3 separate regions of the Homo sapiens genome follow, and regions 2 and 3 are each linked to region 1. Evidence: promoter capture Hi-C in human tissues and cell types (Jung and others, 2019). All regions are on one chromosome and are shown on one strand. The core of a region is centred on a gene start or on the middle of the fragment in contact, and the rest is flanking DNA. Distances in the headings are between cores, read along the strand shown.

Region 1 (4,928 bases), core at 830-3,329:
TCCCTTGAACCCCGGAGGAGGATGTCGATGTCGCAGTGAGCTGAGATCACACCATTGCATTCCAGCCTGGATGACAGAGCGAGACACTGTCTCAAAAAATAAAATAGGCTGGGTGTGGTGGCTCATGCCTGTAATCCCAGCACTTTGGGAGGCCGAGGCGGGTGGATCACAAGGTCAGGAGTTCAAGACCAGCCTGGCCAATACGGTGAAACTCTGTCTCTACTAAAAATACAAAAATTAGCTGGGCATGGTGGCACACGCCTGTAGTCCCAGCTACTCAGGAGGCTGAGGCAGAAGAATCGCTTGAACCCGGGAGGCAGAGGTTACAGTGAGCCGAGATCACGCCACTGCACTCCAGCCTGGTGACAGAGCAAGACTTTGTCTCAAAATAAAATAAAATAAAAAAGAACTTTTTTTAAAAAGAGGGTCTTAATTATACAAATTTCTCTTTAGTTTTCTTGTTAAATGTGCTGGGCCATTCTTGCTTTCCTTGCAGCTTTCATCAACAAAAGAAGCAAGGTGGCCAGCCCAGATCCACCCAGATATGGGCTTGCCAGGGCAGGGTGAAATGCAGCTCTGATTTGTTGATGGATAAATTTTGAGGCTAGGAAAGGCCCTCCAAAGAGTAGCCAGAGGAGAGCTTTCCCACCAATTTGATCTATAGAAGGATACTCAGCATCTCTGCCCTCTTTACCTCCCAGTTACATGTCTGTTAAGATTTAGGGGTAGTGAGATTAAGGGACAGAATAAATTTAAAACTATCTATAATTATATACCCCATCGGCCTTCCCATGGGTTTAAATCATCAAACACTTCTTGTTTTTCCCATAGTGTTGCAGCCTTCTCTGAGCCACACTGCTGTATCACTGCTGAACAAGATGATTAGGTATGTGATTGTAGATTGCAGGCATTTGAGGTAGTGCCTTTATTTGGATAGTGCCATTTAATTTGTGATACTATTTCGTATGAAGCCACATGTTTGTTTATAGAGATGTATGGAGCAGTCCACAAAAGATACTCTGTGGCAAAGCTAATAAAGGCTGTTTCCACAGAGCTATCTGAAGGCATGTGGAAGCACAATAGTGACAAACAGAAACCACAATGGGTCAATGTTGAGAGAATCCTGGGATTGGGAGGTGCTTTTTAAAGGCCAGAAGGGAAAGAAAATCAGTTTGGAAGGATTTACTACACAGCAGGTCTTGGTGGATATATTCAGTTCTGGGAACACTTGGCAGTACCAGGGTGCAGTTCATTTACCAGTGTACAAATGATTGAACAGAAAAGCATTCAGGAGTCTCGAATAAATCATTTCCATATCCCACCCGAGCTGGTAAACGGGCGATGAACTGTAGAACAGCCCAGCTGTCCAGAGACAGTGGACAAACCTGGGAGTCCGTTTAGCATGAATGACTGACTCCGGGGAGGGAGGAGGGAGGGCGTTCAGCTGGGGGCTAGGGAAGGGGGTCAAAGTCCAAGCTGCAGAGAGGACAATAAGGCTATGCGTGGGACACAAAGCCGAACCGCAGCAGCAGCTGCCTGGCTCCCGGCGCGCCGCTGAATCAAGCTTCGATTTGAGAAGGGACCTGGCAGCAGCGCGTGCACTAGCTGCTTCCTTCTCCCAGAAGAGCCTGGAAGGGCGCACAGGCTGGTCGCCCTCGGGCGAGGGCAGCCGGCGGCAGGCATCCCTCCCCCTCGCCTCCCTGCCCAGCAGCGCCAGGCAGTGTCCCGACGAGGGCAGGGCGGGGCGCAGGCTGGGGGAGGGCGAGGTGGGGCTGAGCCGCGCGGCGGCGGCTGACGCAGTGCGGGGCGAGGAGCCCGGAGCGCCCTGGCGGGCGTGGAGTCCCCAGCCTGGCCGCTGGGAGGCCGCGTCCCCACCGGAGGGGGCAGGGCGCACTCACCCGGCCGCCCTGAGGCCGCTGGCGGCCTGTTGGCTTCTCCACAGGCGCGCTCGCCGTTCAAGCGCGCTTTGTCCCCGCCCCAGATCCTGGGGGGTGAGCGGTGGAGAAGGGGCGGGCGCCCGCGAGCCGTGAATCACCTCCTCCTCTTGCTGCCTCAGCGCCGCCGCCACCTTTCCATTCAGTCGCCCAACATGGCTGGAGCGCGGCGGAGGTGAGCCGGCCGCCCGCCCGCAGACGCCCCAGCCTACTGCGCCCGAGTCCCGCGGCCCCAGTGGCGCCTCAGCTCTGCGGTGCCGAGGCCCAACGGCTCGATCGCTGCCCGCCGCCAGCATGTTGGGCGCCCCGGACGAGAGCTCCGTGCGGGTGGCTGTCAGGTGAGGACAGTCTGCCGGCGGCGGGCGGCGGGCGGCGGGTTGAGGGCGCGGCAAGGACCTGGCTGTGGCGCGGAGCACCGGCTACCGGGGTGGAGCGACCTGAGGGGCGTCCCGGCCGGGTTCTGCGGCTGAGGAAACTGAGGCAGTGAGTCCCCGCTGGCCTGGCACGCGCGGCCGGGTGCTGGCAGGGCGACTGCGCCGCCCTCACGCCGTCTGTGTTTGCAGGTGGCTGGCGGCTGCGCGGCGCCGGGTCCCTGGGGGGCGTCTTGACTTCTCTGGGGGAAAAGCCCTCGTCACTCCCCTCCGTCCCCTCGCGGGATCAGTCACCTCAGGTCTGGCCGCCTTGGGCTATCGCCTGTCCGGGAGGAGCTGCCTGTGCGCGGGGCTGTGGTGTTCTTTTTTATTAGTTCTAGAATGTCTGTCATACGTGTCCATGCAGCTCCGGCCTTCCCAGGCAGGAGACAAAGCATCTGACTATCAGCGCCGGCGACCGCAGGGCCCGCCGCGCGCCCACTCGGGTTCTGATGTCTGTGCAAATGAGACATCTTTTTCAGCATCACGGGGATCTAGACATGCCCCCGCGTGTGGGTAGAGGAGACAGATCTAGCCTCTTGGGTGTTGGAATGGGAGTGGAATTTAAGGTAAAATCCACTGGGGAGAGGTCTACAGAAGGAGGAAAACTCTTTAGCCAGAGGAAGGGTGAAATGGGTGACTGTGTGAAACATACTGACATTAGGCAGGGTGGATACAATGTAATCGTAACGTTACCCAGGCCAGGGTGTGAGTCTGGAAATACTAGGTACATCCTAGTATTGAAATTATATTTCGGCCAATGACAGGCACGAGTATTCGATGTAATTTCGGCTGTTTTGATACTTATCAAGAAGGAAAGCTCTGATAGTTGCTCATGGAAAATTGCAACATCATCACACTGTGTGAAAAATTAATGAAGCATTCATCCTAGAGTAAGTGCGTGGCTTTCACAGCTCTGAGAGTCTACTGTTAATTCACTTCTCCTTATTTATGCTTTAAGGATTATAAAAATAATCTACACTCCAAGGAATTAGGAACTATTAACAATCTCCCAGTCTTGTAGTCTTTCCAGAAAATTATTCTAAAAATTCTCCCCTCTAAACATTTCTATAGTTACTATTTTAGTGACACATCTTGGGTCAGGCATAGTAATGGCTGTTTCGTATACTTTGTATCTTTAATTAACTTAAATAATAAAATGAGTTTTTAAGTGTTTTTTTTTTTTTTTTTTTTACCACCCAGGGAGGTGACAGTTTTATGACTGGTTAGAATCACCTGTTATAAGGCTTTTGAAGTTTTAATTAGGCCTTCTTCGTTATTCTAGGGCTACTTATCCAATTGTTAGATTAGTCTGTTTCTCCTATTCACTGCTACTACCTCTCTTTTGGCCCTTTAATACCAGTTAATGACTGCACCAGGGTGGAGAAAGGGGAAGGAAAAAGACAGAAAACCCAATAAGAGGCAATTTTGTTAGGAGATCTGATCAAGGAAAGTGAAGAAGGTGCATAAAATATTACTGAAAACAGACAATTTGTCTGTTTTTAGACGTTTGAGATTTTTATATGTGAATTCTCTAGACTATCACAAGGCAGTTTGTTGACCATTCTGTTAAATCCGATGCTTCTTTGCCTGTAGAGCCATGGATGACCCTAAAGTGATGCTGACTGATAAATAACTTGTATTTTGTTTTGGTGTGTATGTTAGGACTTTTTAGGTGAATGAATGTGGGTTTGATTTTTGGGGAAAGGCTTTATAAAAACTTCAACATAACTTAGTAAGCCATATTGTAAAGATTCAATTTGTTGAATTCAGGATTCCTTCCTTCCTTCCTTCTTTCCTTTCTCTTTCTCTCTTCTTTCCTTTCTTCTTTCTTTTTTTTGAGATAGGGTTTTGCTGTGTCACCCAGGCTAGAGTGTCGTGGTGCCATCATAGCTCACTGCAGCCTCAACCTCATGGGCTCAAGCAATCCTCTAATCTCAGCCTGCTGAGTAGCTGAGATCACAGGCATGTGCCACACTGCTTGGCTAATTTTTATACATTTTTGTAGATATGGGGCCTCCCTATGTTTCCCAGAGTGGTCTTGTACTCCTGGGCTCAAGCCGTCCCTCCCAAATTGCTGGGATTACAGGCATTAGCCACTGCGCCTGGATAAATCGGGGATTTCTTTCATTAAATACATTGTTCTCTGAACAGAGCTACCTTGTAAACTTACTTTATATAGGATAAAAATAGCTTATACTCATATAGCACTTTAGTATTTATAAAGTGTTTGGACTTATATTGTTCATTTATAACCATTATTTATTGAAGATATATACCCGTCTCTGTTATCCTGATTTCTGGGCTAAAAGTAGTGATAATTGTTTGACTTATACTGTGTGCCGGGATTAGTGCTGTGTTAAGATGTTTTATCTCATGTAAAGTCTTATTTATTCCTCATAACAATCTGTGACTTAGGTCCTGTTATTATGGCCATTTACAGATGAGGCACAGAAAGATTAAGTAAACCATCCAAAGTTAAATTGGTAACAAATGAGAGAGCCAGGGTTCCAACCCAGATAGCTTGACTCAGTAGCCCAAGTTCTTAACCATTAACCCTGCGGAAGTGAGAGGCAAGAACATG
Region 2 (4,406 bases), core at 1,182-3,681, 660 kb after region 1:
GCTTTGTTGATATTCTGTCTAGAAGATCTGTCCAGTCCTGGAAATGGGATGTTCAAGTCTTCAGCTATTATTGTATTGGGATCTGTTTCTCTCTTTATCTCTGATAATATTTGTGTTATATATCTGGATGCTTCAGTGTTGGGCGCATATGTATTTAAAATTGGGTGTTCCAGTCTCCAGTATAATTGTATTGGGATCTGTCTCTGTCTTTAGCTCTGATAATATTTGTTTTATGTATCTGCAAGCTCCATTGTTAGGTGGGTATGTATTTAAAATTGCTAGACTCCCTTGCTTAATTGACCCCTTTATCTTTATATAGTGACCTTCTTTGTCTCTTTTGATAGTTTTTGTCTTGAAACCTATTTTGTCTGATATAAGTATACCTGCTCCTACTCTTATTTGGTTTCCATTTGCATGGGATATTGTATTAATCAGGGTCCTCTATTGGGACAGAACTAATGGAATATATATATATTAATAACTCACACGATCACAAAGTCCCATAATAGGCCATCTGCAGGCTGAGGATCAAGGAGAGCCAGTCCAAGTTCCAAAACTGAAGAACTTGGAGTCTGATGTTCCAGGGCAAGAAGTATCCAGCAGGAGAGAAAGATGTAGGCTGGGAGGTTAGGCCGGTCTCTCTTTACACATTTTTCTGCCTACTTACATTCTATCTGCACAGGCAGCTGATGAGATTGTGCTCACCCAGAGTAAGGGTGGGTCTGCCTTTCTCAGCCCACTGACCCAAATGTTAATCTCTTTTGGCAGCACCCTCACACACACACCCAGGATCAATACTTTGTATCCTTCAATCCAATCAAGTTGACACTCAGTATTAACCATCACAGTTATCTTTTTTCATCCCTTTATTTTCAGTGTGTGCTTGTCTTTATAAGTTAAGTGTGTTTCTTCTAGGCAACAGAACATTGGGCTTTGTTTTTTAATCCATTCAGCCTCTCTGTGTCTTTTGATTGGAGGGTTTAGTTTATTTGCATTTAGTGTTATTATTGATAAGTAAGGACTTTCACCTGTCATTTTCTTATTTTTTTTCTAGTTGTTTTGTGTTCTCTTCTTTCTTTCCTTCCTTCTTCCATTTGTTGAAGGTGATTTTCTCTGTTGATATGATCTAGTGTTTTGCTTTTCTTTGTTATTTTTTGTATCTCTTGTATTTTCTTGTTTGTGGTTACTAAGAGGCTTGCAGATATTATCTTATAACTCATTATTTCAGCCTTTTAACAACTTAACACTGTTTGCATAAACAAGGAAGTAAGCAAAAAGACAACTCTTAAATTCTATGCTTTAACTTTGTTCCTCTGCTTTTTAACTTTTTGTTGTGTCTATATATGTCTTCTTGTATGTCTCATGGTGCTAATAAAGACATACCTGAGCTTGAGTAAATTATAAAGGAAAGAAGTTTAATTGACTCATAGTTCCACGTGGCTGGGGAGGCCTCACAATCTTAGTGGAAGGTGAATGATTAGCAAAGTCATATTTTACATGGAGAGAATATGTGCAGGGGAACTCCCCTTTATAAAATCATCAGATCTTCTAAGACTTATTCACTATCACAAGAACAGCCTGGGAAATACCTGCCTTCATGATTCAATTACCTCCCACCAGGTCCCTCCACAACATGTGGGAATTATGGGAGCTATAATTCAAGATGAGATTTGGGTGGGGACACAGCCAAACCATATCATGTTTTTTTTTTTTATTGGTTAATTTTTTAGTCTTTCTACTTAAGATTATTTTACACACCACAGTTACACAGTTATAGTGTTATAATATTCTGTGTACTTGCTACTATCAGTGAGTCAGTGAGTTTTGTACCTTCAGATGATTTCTTATTGCTCCTTAATGGGTCCTTTTTTTTTTTTTTTTCAGAGACAGAGTCTCACTCTGTCATCCAGGCTGGAGTGCAGTGGCACGATCTCTGCAACCTCCTCCTCCTGGGTTCAAGCGATTATCTTGCCTCAGCCTTCTGAATAGCTGGAACTACAGGCACGTGCCATCGCACCCAGCTAATTTTTGTATTTTTAGTAGAGACGGGGTTTCACCATGTTGGCCAGGCTGGTCTCAAACACCTGACCTCAGGTGATCTGCCCACCTCAGCCTCCCAAAGTGCTGGAATTATAGACGTGAGCCACCGCACCAGGCAAGGTCCTTTTCTTTCTGATTTGAGATATTCTCTTTAGCATTTCTCATAGGAGAGGTCTTGTGTTGATGAAATCCCTAAGATTTTGTTTGTCTGAGAAATTCTTTATGTCTTATTCATGTTTGAAGGATACTTTCACCAGGTATATTATTCCAGGGTAAAAAGTTTTTTTTTTCCTTCAGCATTTTATATATGTCATGCCACTCTTTTGTGTCCTGGAAAGATTTCACTGAAAAGTCTGCTGCCGGACATATTGGAGCCACTTTGTGTGGTGTTTGTTTCTTTCTCTTGCTGCTTTTGGGATTCTTCCTTTATCCTTAACCTTTGGGAGTTTGATTACTACATGCCTTGAGGTAGTCTTCTTTGGGTTAAATCTGTTTGGTGTAGTATAACTTTTTTATCCTTGGGTATTGGTATCTTTCTCTAGGTCTGGGAAGTTCTCAGTTATTATCTCTTTGAATAAACTTTCTACTCCTCCTGTCTCTTTTTTGCCTCCTTTTTAAAAGGCCAGTAGCTTTTAGATTTGCCCTTTGGGGGCTTTTTTCTAGATCCTGTAGGCATGCTTTTTTGTTTTTCATTCTTTTTTCTTTTGTCTTCTCTGAATGTCCGTTTTCAAATAGCTTGTCTTCAAGCTCACTAATTCTTTATTCTGCATGATCAACTCTGCCATTAAAAGACTGATGCATTCTTCAGTATGCCAATTGTATTTTTAGCTCCAGAATTTTTGTTTGATGCTTTTAAATTATTTTAATTTTTTGTTACATTTATTTGATAGAATTCTGAATTACTTTCTGTGTCATCTTCAATTTGAGTTCCCTCAAAACAGCTATTTTTACTTCTCTGTCTGTATGCTCACATATCTCTGTTTCTCCAGGCTTGGTTCCTGGTGCTTTATTTAGTTCATTTGTTAAGGTCATGTTTTCCTAATGGTCTTGATACTTGTAGATGTTCATTGAACATTGAAGCATTGAAGAGTTAGGTATTTATTTTAGTCTTCACTGTCTGGGCTTGTTGGTACCCATTCTTCTTGGCAAGACTTTCCAGATATTTCAGAAAACTCGAGTGTTGTGATCTAAACTGTATCTACTTTAGGGGCCAAAGCCCACCAATGCTGTGGTTCTTGCAGACTAGTAGAGATACTGCCTTGATAGTCTTGGACAAAATCTGTAAGAGTTCTTTGGATTACCTGGCAGAGACTCTTGTTCTATTTCCTTACTTTCTCCCAAACAAACAGGGTCTCTCTTTCTTTGTTCTGAGCCACCTGAAGCTTGGGATGCGGTGACACAAGCCTGTCTTTGGCTATCATCACTAGGACTGTGTGACTGTAGTAAGACTAGTTTAAATGCTCCCTCTGTGGGTGGGCATCAGCTGAGTTTGGTTTGGTTTTACTTTCTGCTATAACAGGGCAGCACTGAGTTCAATACCTCACCATTGCTGCACTCCCCTCTCCCCAGCACACGGAAATGTTCTCAGCACCACAGTGTAGCTGCAAGGGGATTAGGGAGGGGTGACACTGGTGATTCAAGACTGATTTTCTTAGTTCTTCAGTGCCTCTTTTGATGATATGAAGTTAAAGCCAGGTACTGTGAGTGCTCATCTGATTTTCAGTTCTTATGAAGATGCTTTGTGTGTGTGTATAGATAGTTGTTAAAATATAGATAGTTGTCTTTGCAGGAGGGATGATCAATGGAGCCCTCTATTTCATCATCTTGCTCCGCCTTCCACCAGTCTTATCTATGTCCTAAATTTTGTGAAGGATTACTCATCTCTAATAATCTCTTGAGATCATGTTTAACTGTAATGTGGATGAGTTTTATTATTCTATGTCTCTCAAAATGTAAGAATACAGTTAAAAGAAGCAATCTTTAAAATTGATCTTTTTTGGTAACTTTCTTTTCTGATATAATTTCAACTGCATGTAAAAGTTGCGAGAGTAGTCAAGGTGGGGTGGCTCATGCCTGCAATTCCTGCACTTTGGGAGGTCAATTCTGGAGGATTGCTTGAGCCCAGTAGTTTGAGAACAGCTTAGGCAACATAGTGAGACCCTGTCTAAAAAAATGAAAAAACGTTAGCTGAGCATGGTGGCACATATGTGTATTCCTAGCTACTTGGAAGGCTGAGATGGGAAGATTGCTTGAGTCCAGGAATTTGAGGCTTAAGTGAGCTCTGATCACTCCACTGCACTCCAAACTGGGTGACAAAGTGAGACCCTGTCTCAAAAAAAAAACAAAACAAAAACAAAACAAAAAAT
Region 3 (4,513 bases), core at 1,674-4,173, 700 kb before region 1:
TTGTAATATGTTATAACACAATCAAGATACATCTGAAACAACATAGTGCAGGCACTATTTCCGATGTTCAACATCATGCTGGAGTAAAACTTAGAGACTCTTGGAAAAAAGAAATACTTAAATAATGTCACCAGTGTAATGTGCTACATTGTAATGGTGTTATGCTTATTACATGTGTTATCTAGTAATGCACAAAAAGCCTAATGGATTTGCTCATATTTTCCTCATGTGCAAATGAAAACACTGAGTCTCAGAGAGATTAAATAAATTGCCAAATGTCATGTCAAGCGATTTTGATCCTGGTATTTCTAATATAAAAGCCCATGTTTTAATTTATTAACTGTTTGACATATAACAATAATAGATCATTACATGTTAATATAAATAACCTATGTATGAAGACTAATTATATTTTTACTTCTGCATTCAATCAACTGCAACATGTCATTTTGGTTGATGTGTACAGAAAATACTCAACATCTCGCAGATATTGGGTTGGAAAACAGAGGACATTTTTATATCTGTTTCAGATAAATGTATATATTTTTCTTTGATAGTACACCAAAATTTGACAAGTGACTATTTCTTAAAGGGTAGTTGCAGCATGAAATCCAAAATAACATCAATAAACTTTTCATTCTCTGTTACACTAAAATTCATTGGTTTTATCTTACACAAAGTGTGGATGATTTTGTAACATCATGTGTTGGTCATTTAGAAAACATTATTCCACTGGGTTATGCAGATTTTCTAAATGCTGACACATTTCATTTTATAATTTCAAAAATGAACATTTATTAATGTCACCAATATCATCAAAATGTTTGAACTACTGGGACGCATCAAGTTCATTCTGGTAGACACACATTTTTCAACATGTAACTCTTCCTTGAAAACTCAAATTTTATCATTGACAACAAATGCGGTCAGTTGTTTTCCTTGAATTATCAAACTCACTTTGCTCATTTTTGAGAAAATATTTGCCAATTATCCAAGTCTGAATAGACATGGTTTCTTTGTCAATGTTCGTTCTTTTAATGGTGTTTTCTGAAGAAAAGTGTAGTTCATTTGCAACTCACTGGCACAAATGCTTTTCTTCCAGACAACCATCATAGTTGAGTAAGCAGCAGAAGTGCCTAATGCATACTTTCCATTTTATCACGCAGAATATTAGCAGAACATTTTCTCAAGGGTTGAGATTTAATAACACAAATAATTGTAACTACTTCATCAATGATATACTTAAGTGAAACAGGCATGCAATAAAATGTTTTTGAATAAATGAATAAACTGCCTTGTATTAGGCCCACCAAGGTGAATTTGAAGGTATATATTTGCCTCATGGAAACAGAACTAACACAGTGTTTCATAAATGAAAGTTCACAGATAGATCACATTAATTTAACTCAGAATACTTTATTGAAATGTAGAACTGAGGCCCCATTCCCAAATAATCGGATTTGGTCCATCTAGGGTGAAAAGAGAGACAATGCATATTAAAATACGCTCCAGATAATTTTGAAGAACTGTCAGTTTTGGGGACTGCCTGCTAATGGGACTGTAGTTACAGAGTTTCTTTGGGCAATGATGAAAATTCTCTCAAACTTTATCAAAGGCCAAAAAATGACTGGCTAATATTACTAATTAGAATTCTACTATAATCCCATAGTACAAGTTTATAGTTTTTAAATCTCAAGTGTGTCAAATGTATATTCTTGCCAAGCGTGCTACCCTCCACGATAACAAGGAGAGACTGCTTCCAAGGACAGGGATCAAGTGAGTCTCTGAGTTAAATCCTGTCCTTCCTTTCATATTCTCCTTGATTAACTTACAAAATAATTACATTCTTTTAAAGTGTGTCCTCATTAATTACAGTTTTTTTGACATAATTTAAAAGAATTATTTTCTTAAGGTATGCCAACAGAGGGTAATAGAGGTGGGCTGGGACATTTATTCTTCTCTGATCTTTCTCTGATGCACCCAAAGGCTATTTAATGCACAACTGCCCTCTCATTGCAACATCAAAGCATGTAATTCACTATTTAGGTTTTACTTTCACAGTAGAGAAATTGTCCAGACTAAGCATATTAAATCGTGTTGCAAATGACTTTTTTTTGTGAGGTAAAATATAAATAACACAAATTTACCATTTAAAAAATTTTTAAGTATAGAGTCCAATGGCATTAAGTACATTTATATCATTGTGTAACTATCATAACAAATGACTTTTATATAAGTAAGTCAATGGAAAATTCAAGTATATCATATCTACAAAGTATCTTCAATTATTAAAGTAAAACCATAGTTTTAATAAAAAACATTATCAAAAGACTTCATATAAACTAATAATCCTATTGCTAAATTCCTGACATTGTTATTTATAGGACTGTCTTTTAAAATATATTTACATTTGAATTTTTTAATAACCCAAAGATTTTCATCCAGATTTCATATTAAAAATAAATTCATTGATCCATCATGATACAGATTGCATATAAGTATATTAAATGACAGACTTTTTATCCTAGTTTCATTTTAAAAACAAACTTTCCTATCAATCACGGGCAGATGTTGATAAGGTAATAGCAGCTGTGGCAGAGAATACATTTTTATTAAGGAAAAATGACAATGTATGTCTTTAATGGGTAAGATTATTAATAGCTCTTTGCAAGTATCAGACAGAAGTTTTTATGAGTATTTTAAGCAAAAGCTTTAATAACCGATAACTCATTCACTGTGTTTCTTATTGGGGTACCAGCTGCTACTGTTCCTTCTCTCTTCACAAGAATTCAAATTCCAAGGCTATGTGTACCTGACAATACCAGACAGGTCAAAACATAGCCACCAACTTGACTAAGAGAATTAACCATTTAAGGCAAAATATCACGAGGTTTTCCCCTCTTTCCACATCCTTCCTTCTTTATGCCCTCTTCTTAAGCATTGCTGTTTCCCATGTATCCAACTTCCTACTAAACCCATATAATTGGACAATACATCTCAATACAGTTACAAAACCCAACTCATTATTTCCTCCCCAACCTTCCCCACAATGGGTGGGTGTTTTTGATCTCAGTGAAGGTCACCACCCCTGACCAGTCTCTCTCCCCATGCAGTGCCTCAGCTCCAGAACTAGTTTACCACAATGGACTCTAATGAGTTTTCCTGTCACTCAATTCTCTTCTCTACACTACTAGAGTTATCTTTCTAGTATTTGAATCTGATTATGTTTCTCCTTTACTTAAAAATCCATCAGTAAGAAAACAAGGAGCAGAAACTTTAAACATTCCTAAATACCCTCATACTACTTGCTTCCCACTTTCCACTACACCCTCCATTCCCATTGTTCCCAATAATCATCCTTCTCTCCATTCAAACAGAATTGACTGAATTCTCCCATGGATAAAGCAGTTTTCTTTTTCTTATAACACGCTTCACATTGTCTCTTCTTCCATTAAAAGTAAGCTGAAACATCACTTCCCCCATAAAGTGTTCTTTGATCTTACCCCACCTCACCTCTCCAGCCATAGCCCTAGGCCAATTTAGGCATCCCCTGTTTGTTCACCTAAAGCTGTCTCTACACACCTCTTCCCATCAGAGTACCTCACAATCCTAGATTTACTTTTATTTCCTCTACTAGATTGTTGACTTTTGAGAGAAAGGGATGTCTTACTTTCCTCTGAGGTACTAGAACCAAACACAGTATTGGCTGCAGTAGCAAGCAATAAAAGTTTGTTGAATGGATGAATAGCTGAATGAATTTAATCAACTAAAATGTTTAGATTTAAATATATAGCCAACCATACTATAACATGAGAATCCAGAATTATTGTCCCACTATTCAAAATGCTCCTCTATAAATCCAGTCTACTAAATGTTTATGTTTCATTTTGGTTAATTCTTAGACAAGAGGGTTTAGTGCACTACAGAAACCATCTCATTAGATTTTCATATAGTTTTATTTTTCCTCATTTATGTAATGTATTACATATATATGTATACTCTAGTGAAAATTTTTTTGATCTTGACTTACACATTCAGTTGGTAGACATTTGTGTGGGCATGAATATAAACATGTCTAGTCACGAGAATATCCTGATTCAAATAGGGAAGCAAAAGATGACACGCTCTCAGACAGGAAGTGACTGTCAGCATCCTTTAAAAAGAAACAACAGGCTGTGGTTCGTTTATTTCCTTGCTTATTTGTGACTTGCCCTCAGTGCCTGATGATGCTTGGTACAAAGAACTGAGTAAAACTATCTTTTATATTTTCTATTTATATAGCAATTTACATTTAAAAGCACTTTCAAGTTAATTCTCTCCTTTGAAACATTTGTTGATATGTCAATTTTAGTTAATATTCCTGAATATTTGATGATTTTTAAAAGAAACCAAGTTATAGATTCATTTTACTGTATCTAAAAATTAAAATTCTATTTTGGCTCAATTTTGTAAAAATATCTCAATTATGTTTCAACTTTGTTTTGAATTTTTAAAATGGTCTGTCAGTCCAGTA

Evidence for each region. The method cuts DNA at HindIII sites, captures the fragments that hold promoters and counts their contacts. A contact is called where the count stands out against the background at its distance.
Region 2: a fragment that was not itself captured here is called in contact with the fragment with the promoter of KIF21A in region 1 in 1 of the 25 tissues and cell types used here (lymphoblastoid cells).
Region 3: a contact is called between a fragment that was not itself captured here and the fragment with the promoter of KIF21A in region 1, in 1 of the 25 tissues and cell types used here (lymphoblastoid cells).

What each region holds. Positions count from the first base shown.
Region 1 is chr12:39,440,271-39,445,198 of GRCh38, reverse strand. KIF21A (kinesin family member 21A) reads left to right here and starts at 2,079. Exons shown (of 38, transcript NM_001173464.2): 1 at 2,079-2,272. The coding sequence starts at 2,229. RefSeq lists enhancers at 1,409-1,468, 1,750-2,250, 3,069-3,138 and a silencer at 1,549-2,448. The HindIII fragment of the contact is 12,215 bases long and covers 1-4,928 here.
Region 2 is chr12:38,782,665-38,787,070 of GRCh38, reverse strand. All of the region lies in intron 6 of CPNE8 (copine 8), which reads left to right. Among named protein-coding and RNA genes, the nearest start is that of CPNE8, 120 kb to the left of the region's middle. The HindIII fragment of the contact is 6,233 bases long and covers 1-4,406 here.
Region 3 is chr12:40,137,068-40,141,580 of GRCh38, reverse strand. No RefSeq gene overlaps it. Among named protein-coding and RNA genes, the nearest start is that of LINC02471, 17 kb to the left of the region's middle. The HindIII fragment of the contact is 6,367 bases long and covers 1-4,513 here.